4 separate regions of the Homo sapiens genome follow, and regions 2, 3 and 4 are each linked to region 1. The links are contacts of gene promoters, found by promoter capture Hi-C in human tissues and cell types (Jung and others, 2019). All regions are on one chromosome and are shown on one strand. The core of a region is centred on a gene start or on the middle of the fragment in contact, and the rest is flanking DNA. Distances in the headings are between cores, read along the strand shown.

What was found. Contacts are between HindIII fragments. The study calls those that stand out against the background at their distance.
Region 2: a contact is called between a fragment that was not itself captured here and the fragment with the promoter of CCIN in region 1, in 1 of the 25 tissues and cell types used here (hippocampus).
Region 3: a fragment that was not itself captured here is called in contact with the fragment with the promoter of CCIN in region 1 in 2 of the 25 tissues and cell types used here (aorta and lymphoblastoid cells).
Region 4: a fragment that was not itself captured here is called in contact with the fragment with the promoter of CCIN in region 1 in 2 of the 25 tissues and cell types used here (IMR-90 fibroblasts and pancreas).

The regions. Positions count from the first base shown.
Region 1 is chr9:36,167,602-36,170,863 of GRCh38, reverse strand. It overlaps CCIN (calicin), which reads right to left and starts at 1,476. Exons shown (of 1, transcript NM_005893.3): 1 at 1-1,476. The coding sequence starts at 1,361. The HindIII fragment of the contact is 27,142 bases long and covers 1-3,262 here.
Region 2 is chr9:36,390,937-36,394,494 of GRCh38, reverse strand. All of the region lies in intron 1 of RNF38 (ring finger protein 38), which reads left to right. Among named protein-coding and RNA genes, the nearest start is that of RNF38, 7.6 kb to the left of the region's middle. RefSeq lists an enhancer at 2,231-2,731. The HindIII fragment of the contact is 3,014 bases long and covers 1-2,845 here.
Region 3 is chr9:35,933,446-35,936,681 of GRCh38, reverse strand. No RefSeq gene overlaps it. Among named protein-coding and RNA genes, the nearest start is that of OR2S2, 23 kb to the left of the region's middle. The HindIII fragment of the contact is 7,970 bases long and covers 1-3,236 here.
Region 4 is chr9:36,344,777-36,347,897 of GRCh38, reverse strand. RNF38 (ring finger protein 38) reads left to right here. Exons shown (of 12, transcript NM_022781.5): 10 at 2,945-3,066. Among named protein-coding and RNA genes, the nearest start is that of RNF38, 54 kb to the left of the region's middle. The HindIII fragment of the contact is 5,567 bases long and covers 1-3,121 here.

The DNA of each region.
Region 1 (3,262 bases), core at 227-2,726:
TCCCCAGTGCTGGTGTCAAAGCAGTCCACTACCCCGACCCGGGAGATATAACCTTTCACCAAGCACCGTCCAGTGACAATGTACAGATGCCTGTCTCCTTTAGTGATCACGGCGGTGCCATCCATGGGGATGCTCATCTTTCCTGCCAGGCACCAGACTTCCTTCCGCTCATCATAGCGATAGATGTTGGAGACATACCGCCTTGGGGCAATGCTCCCGCCCACTGAGTACACTGTCCCCCCACAGGTCACCATGGTGTGGAAGACAAGCCCGATGGGCAGGTCAGGCAACTTGGTCCAGGAGTTGTCATCCATGTCATACCGCCAGGCTGTCTTCAGCCCTGAAATCTGCTCAGTGGTGCCACCAGAGATGTAGATGTAGCGACCAGCAGAGGTGGCACTAAGTGCTGCTGCCCGATAGGGCATGTCTGAGAGCTTCATCCACAGGTTCTCCTGGATGATATAAGCAAACACTCCATCATTGAACTGGCCGTGGGCCTTCTGGCCACCGAGGATGACCACGGAATCAAGCAGGGCCCCTTTCCGCTGGTAGACCAGCAGGCTGCATGGCCGCTCCTGCTTGCGGTCCATCAGGACACTCTCAATCAGGGTTGTATGGGATGAGGTGTTCTCCATGCCCACCAGCTTGTTGCTGGCAAACACCAGCGTCTTATTGGAGACAGCATTGAGATTGATGTAATTGAAGAACTTCTTGAAATACTTCTCCCGATCCTCCTTCCGGAAGTACACCCAATTGATGAGTGCGCTGAGCGCCTGGTCTTCATTGAGCACGTGAAGGTTTTCATCACGGAGCAGGCGGCCAAAGATAACAGGTGGACAGCGCATGAAGTGCATGGAGCCCTCAGGACTGGCCCAGTAGTGGAAGTTGTCCCGAATGCCAGAGTAAGCTACGTCTGATACCTCTTTGAGCTCAAACAGCTCAGCCAAGAAGAGGTAGCGCAAGCAGTTGGCACGGCAGATGGACTTAATAAGGAAGTCGTTACAGTGAACTCGAAGGCGTGGTGTGTTGAAATACTGAGCCCCACGAAGCAGCTCCTCCACATTTTGCTCGGAGATCACCACCTTGCCGCTATAGAAGTAGTCCAGAAGCTGGTCCACTGTGACCGGGCTCAGGTAACTGGTGTCAATGGTGATGAAAAGCTCATCAGCGGTCTTCATGTCATTGCTGGAGATGAGGCTCCTCACCAGTGGGGAGACAGCAGCCAGCACATTGCGATGTGCAAAGAAGACGTGGTTGTCCACACTCAGGGCCATGTCCCAGTACTCTTTGCGTTTCCTCTGTCTGTTCAGGTTCTGCAGCACGAAGCTATTGTAGTTTTTCTCCGTGAATTCCAATTTCATGGTGCCTCTTGTCGGCTGAAACAGATCAGCAGCAGGTACTGGAGAGCAGACTTTCTCAGGCCTGTGGGATCAGATTGATGGTTGTTTGCAGAGCGGTTGACCAGGGAGAAGAGAGGGTGGAAGAGAGGATGATGTCATAGAGTGGATCAGGTCATCACAATGCAGGCCTCCCTGAGGCCTGTCTCAGAGGCACTGGGCCTTCCTCCCCTCTGATCTCTCCAACCTGCCAAGGCCACATACCCTAGCAGGACCTAAAGCCCTGGGCCCAGAGCTCAGGAGGAACCTCAGGGATGGGCGGCAACTTCCACCTGGGACTTTCAAACCGTAGTTAAAGGCTTCTGGAATATCAGAGCCAGTCTGGGTGGGGCAGTGGGGAGCAGTTTGTGTAGGAGAGATAAGGGGAGGTGGGGAAAGGGAAGAGATTATTAGACCTAGAAGAATCCTCCCATTTTGAGGGAAACTGAGGCCCAGAGAAGAGAAGGCACTTGCCCAAAATCACATAGCCAGTTGGAAGCCGAGCAGGGCCCAGAACCTGGGGAACCTCGCATTCTTCCTACCCTTCTGGAAGCTCCTGACTACCCAGCTTTCCCCAGTCTCTGACTCTCAACTCTCCAAGCACTCTTCCTGCCAAGGCTCCTGGGCATCAGAGAAAAGCTCTGTCCTTTGGCTTCTGACCTTGGTGGCCACAGACATCATTCTCCTTCAAAATGGAGAGGTGGAGGCCACTCCCTGGAGCAGGGATGAAGGAGTTAACCACAAACGGGGGCATGGGAGGGTCTTTAAAGACCGGATGATTTCAGCTCCTTGGCAAACTAGAATGTTCCCCCAACATTTCCAAGTGTCCAGTTGGAAAATGTTGGGGGCTTCAGTGGGTCAGCTTTCTCCATCAAAGGTGGACTTGGGCGAGTTGATCAGACTTTCTAAACCTCAGTTTCCTCCTCTGTGAGATGGAACTAATATTTGATAGTAGTACCCACTTCAAAGATTATTATGAGTTTATTTTTATTTTTATTTTTATTTTTTTGAGACAGAGTCTCGCTCTGTCACCCAGGTTGGAGTGCAGTGGTGCGATCTCAGCTTGAAACAGCCTTTGCAAAATTATGACTGAGACAGTGAAAGAGATCAACTTAACTGACTCCATCTTGCTTCTAACCTCCAAGCTGTCCTTGCTCATTCCTTGGCAAAGGCTGAACTAACTTTGGGAGAAACCTATATGTATAGTTTACGGTTTAAACAAAGACAGCCCTTTCCCAAAGCAGACCTCCTTCTTGCCTGGGGACTAGATTGCCTTTGTAGGACTAACATTAGCCACAAGATTAGAAATTATGGTTTAGGAGTCATGTAGCTGGAGGCTACAAGATTCTAACCCTCCCTAAACTGCTCCTAAGACCAGTGCTTGAGATTTCTCTTTTTTTTTTTTTTTAGACAGTTTCGCTCTTCTTGCCCAGGCCGGAGTGCAATGGTGCGTTCTCGGCTCACCACAACCTCCAACTCCCGGGTTCAAGCGTTTCTCCTGCCTCAGCCTCCTGAGTAGCTGGGATTACAGGCATGCACCACCACACCCGGCTAATTCTGTATTTTTAGTAGAGATGGGGTTTCTCTATGTTGGTCAGGCTGGTCTCAAACTCCCGACCTCAGGTGATCCACCTGCCTCAGCCTTCCAAAGTGCTGGGATTACAGGCGTGAGCCCCCGTGCCCGGCCGGTGCTTGAGATATTTTGCAGAACCTGCACTTGATGGATCAGCTGGCACCACTCAGATCAATAAACTGGCTCATCTGATCTTGTGGCCCCCAGACCCAAGAACTGACTCAGCCCAAGAAGACAGCTCCAACTCCCATGATTTCATCTCTGACCAATCAGCAGCACTCCTGGCTCACTGGCTTCCCCCTACCCACCAAGT
Region 2 (3,558 bases), core at 89-2,588, 220 kb before region 1:
TTCTGGAGAAGAAACTTTTTCACTGTGGTACAATAATTTTTATTCAAGTTATATACATACACATTGTGTTTTCTGTAACAAATTACTACAAATTTATTTGTTTAAAACACAAATATTTCCTTACAATTTCCATGAATCAGGAGTCCTGGTATGGGGTTAGCTGCTGGGCCCCCAGGGTCTTACCTTGCAGGAGCTGTGATTTCTTTCTTTTCTTTTTTTTTTTGAGACAGTCTTGCTCTGTCGCCAGGCTGGAGTGCAGTGGCACGATCTTGGCTCACTGCAACCTCCACCTCCCGGATTCAAGTGATTCTCCTGCCTCAGCCTCCCAAGTAGCTGGGACTACAGGTGTGCGCCACCACGCCCAGCTAATTTTTGTATTTTTAGTAGAGATGGGGTTTCATCATGTTGGCCAGGTTGGTCTCTATCTCTTGACCTTGTGATCTGCCCGCCTCGGCCTCCCAAAGTGCTGGGATTACAGGCGTGAGCCACTGTACCCGGCCCAGAGCTGTGATTTCATCCGTGTCTCCTTCCAAGTTCACTGGTAGAATGTGGTTCTTGTGATTATAGGACTGAGGTCCCCCATTTCTTGCTGGTCGTCAACTGGTGACTGCTTTCAGCTCCTAGAAGCTGCCCTCAAGCCCCTGCCACATGGTACCTTTCGCATGCCTTCTCACAACATCTTAGTCTGAAGAATTGGCAAGAGAATCTCTTGGGAAGGACTCAGTTCTGCTTTCTCTGATTAAGTCATGCCCAGGCTCACCCAGGATAATCTGTCTTTAGCTTGAATTCACCTTACTTGGAATCTTCATTACATCTGAACGTCTTTCCTCCTTTGTCATATGATTTAACCTAATAATGGGAATGAAATACATCACATTCACAGCCCTGCCTGCGCACATGGGGAAGGGGGTTGTACAGGAGATGGACACCAGAGGTAATCTTGGGCAACCTATGTATGGGACTGCCTGCCCCACACACACACACACACACACACACACACACACACACACACACACAATGTGTGTGTGTGATTTTATTTTACCTAGTAGTAAAAATTGTACCTCATTTTAATCAAGCCCATCTATGGTTTTGTCCCAGACTTATTTTGAATATAGCTTTTCTCCATTATATTGGTCCATCCTTTTTAAGACAAATGGAGCCTCTGATCAAAGGAAACTGTTGTGAGTAGGAGAGGATATGCTTGAAAATTATGGCCACAGGGACCAGGTTGGCCAGTTTTTCATTTGTCTATGACCAAGATCTTAAGATTTCAAAGGAACAAGGAATGAAGGAGAAGAAACATAACCTTGATTTGTCTTTTCCCAGCCAGCTACTTGTACTAGCAATTTTGTAAGACTGCTTTGGGCATGATAGTTGAAGGCAGGATGGCCTTAGGATAACACGCTACAAAGGATACATAATGAGCAAATGAAAAGCTTAAGAGGATGCAAAAAGATTCCTACATAAAGAAGCAAACCATTTTGAGAGAGTGGCAAAAGCCCTCCTTAGATTGAGTCAGGAATGTGAAATACTCCTTTTTCTATGAAATCTTAACTCTTACCTTCACATTAATTCAGAACTCTTACTCCTAATTTTTCCCTGTTTTATGGCCTTTAAATATTATGTTACAGTTGGCTGCTTGCATCTGGGTTTCAAAAATTGTTAGAATAAGCTTCTTGAGGTTAGGGCCCATGTTTTTATATCTTATTAGATTAACAAATACTTATTTTTAGAAATTGTCTCACCATGTTGACCAGGCTGGAGTATAGTATTGCAGTCATAGCTCACTGTAACCTCAAACTACTGGGCTCGAGTGAAGCTCCTGCCTTAGCCTCCTGAGTAGCTAAGACTACAGGAGTGTGCCACCATGCCACACTAATTTAATTTTTTTAATTTTTATTTATTTACTTATTTTTTTGAGTAGAGATGGGGTTTTCTCTATGTTGTCCAGGCTAGTCTTGAGCTCCTGTACTCAAGCTCTTCTCTCACCAGGGCCTCCCAAAGGGTTGAGATTACAAGTGTGAGCCACTGCATTTGGCCTGTCTCTATATTCCTAATGTAATTCTTGGCTTGTAGGAGTCAGTCAGTAAATACGCCTTGATTCAGCAATGCATACTTCTGCGTAATGGTAAAGGATAGCACATTCATGTTTGTAGTATAGAGATCAGAACATTCTGTACAGAAAACTAATGAATTCTAAAGTTTCTGCTTTCAAGTGCTTTGTTTTTTACTTCTAGGTGAGTCTTTGGAAGTATTTTTACTCTTACCAGTGGGCACAGTTATCTGTTTACCAGGTCCATAGCAAAGCAGAAACAAAATACTATAAAAAGGCTAAGGAAGGTAAGGGTATTAATATATTAACAGCAGGGATATTAATAGCATTTCATTTTATGATCGGTTTCTGGCTGCTTCCTTACTATCTAGCCATACTAAACGTTTTGCAGTTTCCTGACTACACTGCTGTCTCTTGGCAGCTACTTCTCCATAGCACCTAGTGCCTAGCGTTACCATAATACTTACATCCTGCAGTGATTTACTTTTGTTTCTTTCTTATAGCATATACTTTTTGAAAGTAGGAAACGGGCCGGGCGCAGTGGCTCACGCCTGTAATCCCAGCACTTCGGGAGGCCGAGGCGGACGGATCACGAGGTCAGGAGATCGAGACCATCCTGGCTAACACAGTGAAACCCCGTCTCTACTAAAAATACAAAAAATTAGCCAGGCGGGGTGGCGGGCGCCTGTAGTCCCAGCTACTCTGCAGGCTGAGGCAGGAGAATGGCGTGAACCCCAGTGGGTGGAGCCTGCAGTGAGCCGAGATGGCACCACTGCACTCCAGCCTGGGCGACAGCGAGACTCCATCTCAAAAAAAAAAAAAAAAAAAAGTAGGAAACGATGCCTTTGTTTTTGGTTTAATGCCTGTCACCAAATAGATGCTTAAATGTAGGATTGAGTGAATGAATGAGGCAATGAAACTCTAAAAAGAAGACCATGTTAAAGTATGTAACTTTTAGTGTAGGTACAAGAAGGGACCACGAGCCTTAACCCCCCAAGAAGAATTCACTGTCACAGCACAGTGGAACACATTATGTTCATGATTTTTTTTTTAATGTTACAGAGTAAGTATATTTACATATGAATTTAAGAGGATTAACCCATAATCAAGTCAAACATTTATTTTTGTTTTTTAATTTTTGTAGATAACTGGGGCGATCCTCCCACCTTGGCATACCAAAGTGCTGGGATTACAGGTGTGACCACTGCATTGGCCAAATCAAGCATTGGAAATGTGGCAGTCATTTACTTTTGTGCTTATGATTGTGTCCTTTATTCCTTAGGAAGGTCTTTAGGTTTGTGTTGAATAGAGCTGAGATTTCTGCAGTCAAACATATGTTTGCTATAGAAAATTTGCCACAAATATTGTTAAATCTGTCATTTTCCTTTGCATGATTATTTGGAAGGTTAACTAAAAAACAGAATGAGAAAAAGTATTAATCTTGGTCCAGGCAAACACTTAACCTTTCTGTACTTAAGATATGTAATTTTACCTTGGGTTTTCTT
Region 3 (3,236 bases), core at 568-3,067, 230 kb after region 1:
TATATATAACTCCTGGATTAATACCAAAATACAACAGAAAGGGTTCAGATATAGTAAGTTTGGTGATTCTGAGATATGACTTTTTGCTTTGCCAAATACTAAAACTTCTATGTAGAAATTAGTTAAGTATAACCAATGAGTTTTGTTTTTTTTTTAATAAAAGTGTCCAATTCTCCTCCTTCTCCTTGTGCACTGTACTGCAGGGCCAATATTCATTCCATTTAAGGCCCATTTGGTCTCCTGGAAAGCTGGCCACAAATAGCTTTCAATAACACCTCTGGGCATACACCAAAGAAGTAAATCTGACTCTAAGTAAAATCTTGTAGCTTGCCAATATTTTCACCAGTTAGGAATTATAGGAATTCAGCCATAGAATTTGAACATAAATTGAAGTCTCCTTTTAGCCATTTTTTGTTTTTAGTAGAGACCAAGATCCCATTCATTGCCAAACGTTTTCATAGGCATGAATGCTTGTGTTTGATCCAGGAATAATAAATGATTGACTGTTACCCAGCAGCAGGGTGGGGTGGGATTCCTGGCACTTTTTTTTTTTTTAAGCAAAGGAAAAACAACTGAGCAGACATTTGCTCTTTCAACAGCGTTTTGTGAAAATGTAAATTAAAGAGACTAGTCTTTTTAAAATTATTTCCATAATCACAAATACGACTGTGGAAAGTCAAGACAATGCTGTTTTAAGTCAATATAAGTTATCTGACCTAGACGTCGCCATTAGGACTGTCAACTAACAAGGCATCTGTAGTTTGCTAACTTTTTTATCTTAATGAATTCTGAATTCAAATGTTTTCTTTTTAAATATAAATATTTGCTTTCGCTAAAGGTAAGTTGAAATTCTTGAGTGTTGACTTGAGTACGTACAGAAAAGATCAGTTTCACTGCCAGTAGCTGGGAAATCCATGGTTGGAATTCAAAAACAGCCAATGTATTATACATCATTACATTTCATTGTACACATTCCTATAATATAGAATAAAATTTAAAATTATTTTTGAATAAAACCTTGATTATAGGAATCACAAGAGAAAAGTTTGCCTCATTTAAGAAGTGCTCTAAACTAATAGCTCTCAAACATTTTGCCCTGCAGGTTAGCAAAAATGAAAAGACTAATCAGACCTAATATTGCTAAGTGTAGAAGAAAATAAGTAGAGTCATGCGTTGTTTAGACTGAGATGCATTCTGAGAAATGCGTCATTAGACGATTTCATCATTGTGGGAACATCACAGACTGGACTTGCACGAACCTAGCCTAATATATACCTAAGCTATATGGCATGGCCTATGGCTGCTAAGCTAGAAACCTGTCCAGTGTGTTACTGTACTGGACACTGTAGGCAATTGTAACACAATGGTAAGTATTTGTGTATCTAAACATAGAAAAGGTACAGTAAAAATATGGAATCATAAACTATGGACCATTGTCATATATGCAGACCACACATCATTGACCAAAACATACATACTGACCAAAATATCATTGTGCAGTGCATGACTATACACTTATACTTGGTGCTAATGTAAACTGGGCCAATTTTTAAAATATAATGCTATAATGTTAGATAGATATATAAGAAAAGTAGACTGAATAAGGAAAACTCAATCATATCCCAAGAAAGAAAACTAAGAGCCTAAAGGCCAAATAGTCCTCGGTTTTACAAGTTGAATCACCATGCATTTAATATTTTTTTAAATTTTTTATTATTTATTTATGTATTTATTTGTTTGTTTGTTTGTTTGTTTTCAGATAGAGTCTCACTCTGTCTCTCAAGCTGGAGTGCAATGGCGCGATCTCAGCTCACTGCAACCTCTGCCACGCAGGTTCAAGTGATTCTCCTGCCTCAGCCTCCCAGGTGGCTGGGATTACAGGCACTCGCCATCACGCCTGGCTAATTTTTTGTATTTTTGTAGAGATGAGGTTTCACCATGTTGGTCAGGCTGGTCTTGAACTCCTGACTTCAGGTGATCTGCCTGCCTCGGCCTCCCAAAGTGCTGGGATTACAGGCATAAGTCACCGTGCCTGGCTACCATGCATTTAATATGAACTTGCCAGATTCAGCAAATAAGAATACAGGTTGCTCAAATTTAATTTCAATTTCAGATAAACAATACTTTTTTTTTTGAGGCGGAATCTCGCTCTGTCACCCAGGCTGGAGTGCGGTGGCACGATCTTGGCTCACTGCAACCTCTGCTTCCCAGGTTCAAGTGATTCTCCTGCCTCAGCCTCCCGAGTACCTGGGACTACAGGCGCCCACCACCATGCCCAGCTAATTTTTGTAATTTTAGTAGAGACGGGGTTTCACCATATTGGCCAGGCTGATCTCAAATTCCTGACCTTGTAATCCACCCACCTCGGCCTCCCAAAGTGCTAGGATTACAAGAGTGAGCCACCGCTCCCGGCCAAACAATACTTTTTTTAGTATAAGCATGTCTATATACTTTGTGTCATAGCTATAGTTTAAAAAGTATTCATTGTTTATCTGAAATTCAGATTTTACTAAGCATCCTGTGTTTTATCTGGCAACTCTAATTTAACATAAAACAATAATGATTACAAGATAGGAAAGTTTTATCTTAGATTGTTGGTAAAATTCCTGCCCCAAATCTCTTCTTTCACATCCTTTACCCAGGGTATGATTTTCCAACTGTTGTCCTAGAAATTCCCTGGCTAATCTTGTTATTTTATCCTTATCCTTAGATCCATCTTACAATGTCCTCCAGTATCTCTTACTCATTTTTTTTCTTTCTTTTTCAGTCATAATTCTTTTCATTTTCAAGTTGCTGTTAATAGTTCCACGTACATTCAAGAGACAATCCTCTTACCCATCTCAAAACTAGGCATTACTCAATTTTCCTGGAGGAGGGTAAGAAGAAGCCAAATCCAGAACAGAGAGTACAAATAATTAACAGGCTTAATCTTTGGAGTGTCTCAACTGCAAAGGAGTAATTGTTTTCCTACCTACTCTTGTTGCTTTTACAGGTGAGCAGACAGGCTGGAACAGACAGGCAAGGAAAAGACTGTTGAAAAGATTGTTCCAAGAACATGAAATTTAACTGCAGTCCGATTTGTACAAATTCCATTTATCTTGGTTTCGAACTACCCCTCTCTACCACTCGGATCTTTGGAAGCTTAAATGGCTAGTTACAATTAAAAAAAAAATACAATCAAATGAAAAAACTCTACAGGAATTTAGACACTGACTTGAGAGTTAATTACACTACAG
Region 4 (3,121 bases), core at 94-2,593, 180 kb before region 1:
TCACCGTGTTAGCCAGGATGGTCTCGATCTCCTGATCTCATGATCCACCCGCTCAGCCTCCCAAAGTGCTGGGATTACAGGCATGAGCCACTGTGCCCGGCCTAATCATTTCTAGTTTTTAAAGTGAGACACATGTGACTCTTCCTTTCACTTGAACAATTAGAGGCCATTGTGGGGTTATTAATTGGCATAACTTCAATATTGTTGTGTCTCAGAGACTAGGAATACCGCAGGAGACGGAGAGAGATGGGCGAATAGCCAGTCGTTCAGTGGAGTAGTCAGAATACCCAACATTTATCAATTAAGTTTTCTGTCTTATACAAGTACAGTTTGTGGTACCACAAAACAAGTGCAATAGTAACGTCAAAGATCAGAGATCATTATAGCAGATATGAAAAAGTTTGAAATGCTGTGAGAATTACCAAAATGTGACACCAGGATATGAAATGACTACATGACTGTTGGAAAAATTGAATTAATAGATTTGCTCAATATGGGGTGGCCACACACCTTCAATTTTTTGTTTTTGTTTTAAAAAGGTCGTATCTGTGGCATGCAGTAAAGCAAAGCGCAGTAAAGTGAAATATGCCTGTGTAGTCTTTATACTGTAAGAACTTAACATATTCTGTCACAAATTGTATTTGTTGACCTTTGTGTACTAAGAGATATAAAAGATCATTATCAATGATATCATAAATTTTATCTAAATTTTATATATTGTAATCACCATCAATTTGGCAATTTACTTCCCCCCCCCCCCCCCCCCCCCCCCCCCCCGAGATGGAGTCTCCCTTTGTCGCCCAGGCTTGGAGTGCAATGGTGCAGTCTCGGCTCACTGCAACCTCTGCCTCCCGGGTTCTAGTGATTCTCCTCCCTTAGTCTTCCAAGTAGCTGAGATTACAGGTGCACGCCACCATGCCTGTCTAATTTTTTTGTAATTTTAGTAGAGACGGGGTTTCACCGTGTTGACCAGGTGGGTCTCAAATGCCTGACCTCAAGTGATCTGCCTGCCTTAGCCTCCCAAAGTGCTGGGATTACAGGCTTGAGCCACCATGTGTGGCCTGGCAATTTACTTTCTATTCCAGCATTTAGAAGGGCTGGGGAGCTAGTGAAAGGGGAACAAATTATTTAGATGACGCAATTATCTAAATAATGTTGACACAGAAGCAAAGTTGTAGTATCATAATAAAACACACAGTTATTACATTAACTGTTGACATTTGGGGAATTTATTTCTGTTTCTCTCATCTGTCATTATTTGTTACCCATTCTGTTAACCCTGGGCAACCTGAAAAAATGGAGAAAAGCAGTCCACAAAAGGCAGACTAATTGCGAGATAAACCAAATGAGTTATTAGAGTCATTAAGGAAAGGAGGTACTGGTGTAAAATCAATAAGCATAATAATTGGCTGGGCATAGTGGCTCACTCCTGTAGTCCCAGCACTTTGGGAGGCCAAGGCAGGTGGATCACTTGATGTCAGGAGTTTAAGCCCAGCCTGGTCAACGTGGCAAAACCCTGTCTCTACTAAAAAATAAAAAATACAAAAAATTAGCTGGGCAGCTACTCAGGAGGAGGAGGCAAGAGAATCGCCTGAACCTGGGAGGCAGAGGTTGCAGTTAACCAAGATCATGCCATTGCACTTCAGCCTGGAGGATGAAGCAAGACTCTGACTCAAAAAAAAGGGCATAATAATTACAGTATTGAAACACATCAAATATGTTAAAGTTCATGAGTTGATGGTGGATACTTCATAAAAGAAATTAGGTGGTCTCATTTATCCTATTCTACCTAAATTATTCTGAGTATTGTTTAATATGAGGTATTCTAATAAATGAAGAATGATAAAATAAGAATATTACTGTTTTGCCATTTTTAATGAATTAATGGATCTTGACAGTATTCCATCATTGGCTGCTAACATAACCAGTGGACACGATGGGTCTTATGGTATAAGTATTCACATCTCCCTATTTATAGGACAAGGGGGCAAGGGATTTGTTAAACCCAGTGGGTCAGGGATGGGAGGTTCATTTAGCAGATTTCAAACTGGGAATTTCTACAGCTCATTAACCTGGTTTCTTCAAATTTAAGAGTGAAAAAGAGTCTTGAGACATATTAGGCCATGGTAAGTTACGGATTTGTTTGGATCCTTATTTGAACAAACTACTTTTTAAAGTTTTGAATTGAAAACAAAGACATTTGAACGTTAATTGGTCATTTGATGTTAAAGAATTAGTGTTAATATTTTAGGTGTGATGATGTCATTGTGGTTATATTCTAAAAAGTCTATCTTTTTAGAGCAGCGATTCTCAACCTGGGGACAGTTTGTCCCCTAGGGGATATTTGGGAATGTGTGGAAACATTTTTGGTTGTTACAGCTAGGGGGTGTTAACTGGCACTGAGAGTAGAGGGAGGCCAGGAATGCTGCAAAACATCCTGTAGTCCCCAGGCCAGCCCCGACAACAAAGAATTATCCAGCTCACAGGGTCAAAGTTACTAACTTTGTTTTACAGATGCACTTGATACAAATGAAATGATACCATCTTTCAGTTTTGTTTTAAAATAAGGTGAGGTTTAGGATAGATTGTAATAGGTAAAAGATTAGCCATGGACTATTGACCTGCGTAATGGATAGATCAAGGTTCATTAATGTTACTTTTCTCCTTTTGTATGTGTTTAGATTTTTTCATAAGAAACATTTAAAAAATTATTTTAATAGGGCTGCAGTGGTACGCAATTGTAGCTCCAGATACTCAGAAGGCTGAGGCAAGAGTATTGCATGAGGTCAGGAGTTCGAGGCCACAGTGCACAATGATCATGCCTGTGAACAGCCGCTATACTCTAGCCTGGGCAACATAGCAGGACTCCATCTCTTAAAAAAAAAAAGTATTGGAATGCAAAATGTAAAGATAGATGAAAATATGTCGTCTTTTACCGCTGCAGGCCCTGTTAAACCTGGCAGAGCGACTGGGAGAGGCAAAGCCTCGTGGACTGACTAAAGCAGATATTGAACAACTTCCTTCTTATCGGTTCAATCCTAACAACCACCAGTCAGAACAGACTTTGTAAGTAAATTTTTCTGACATCACTGCTAAATTTCCTTTTCTACCTTTATGAAAT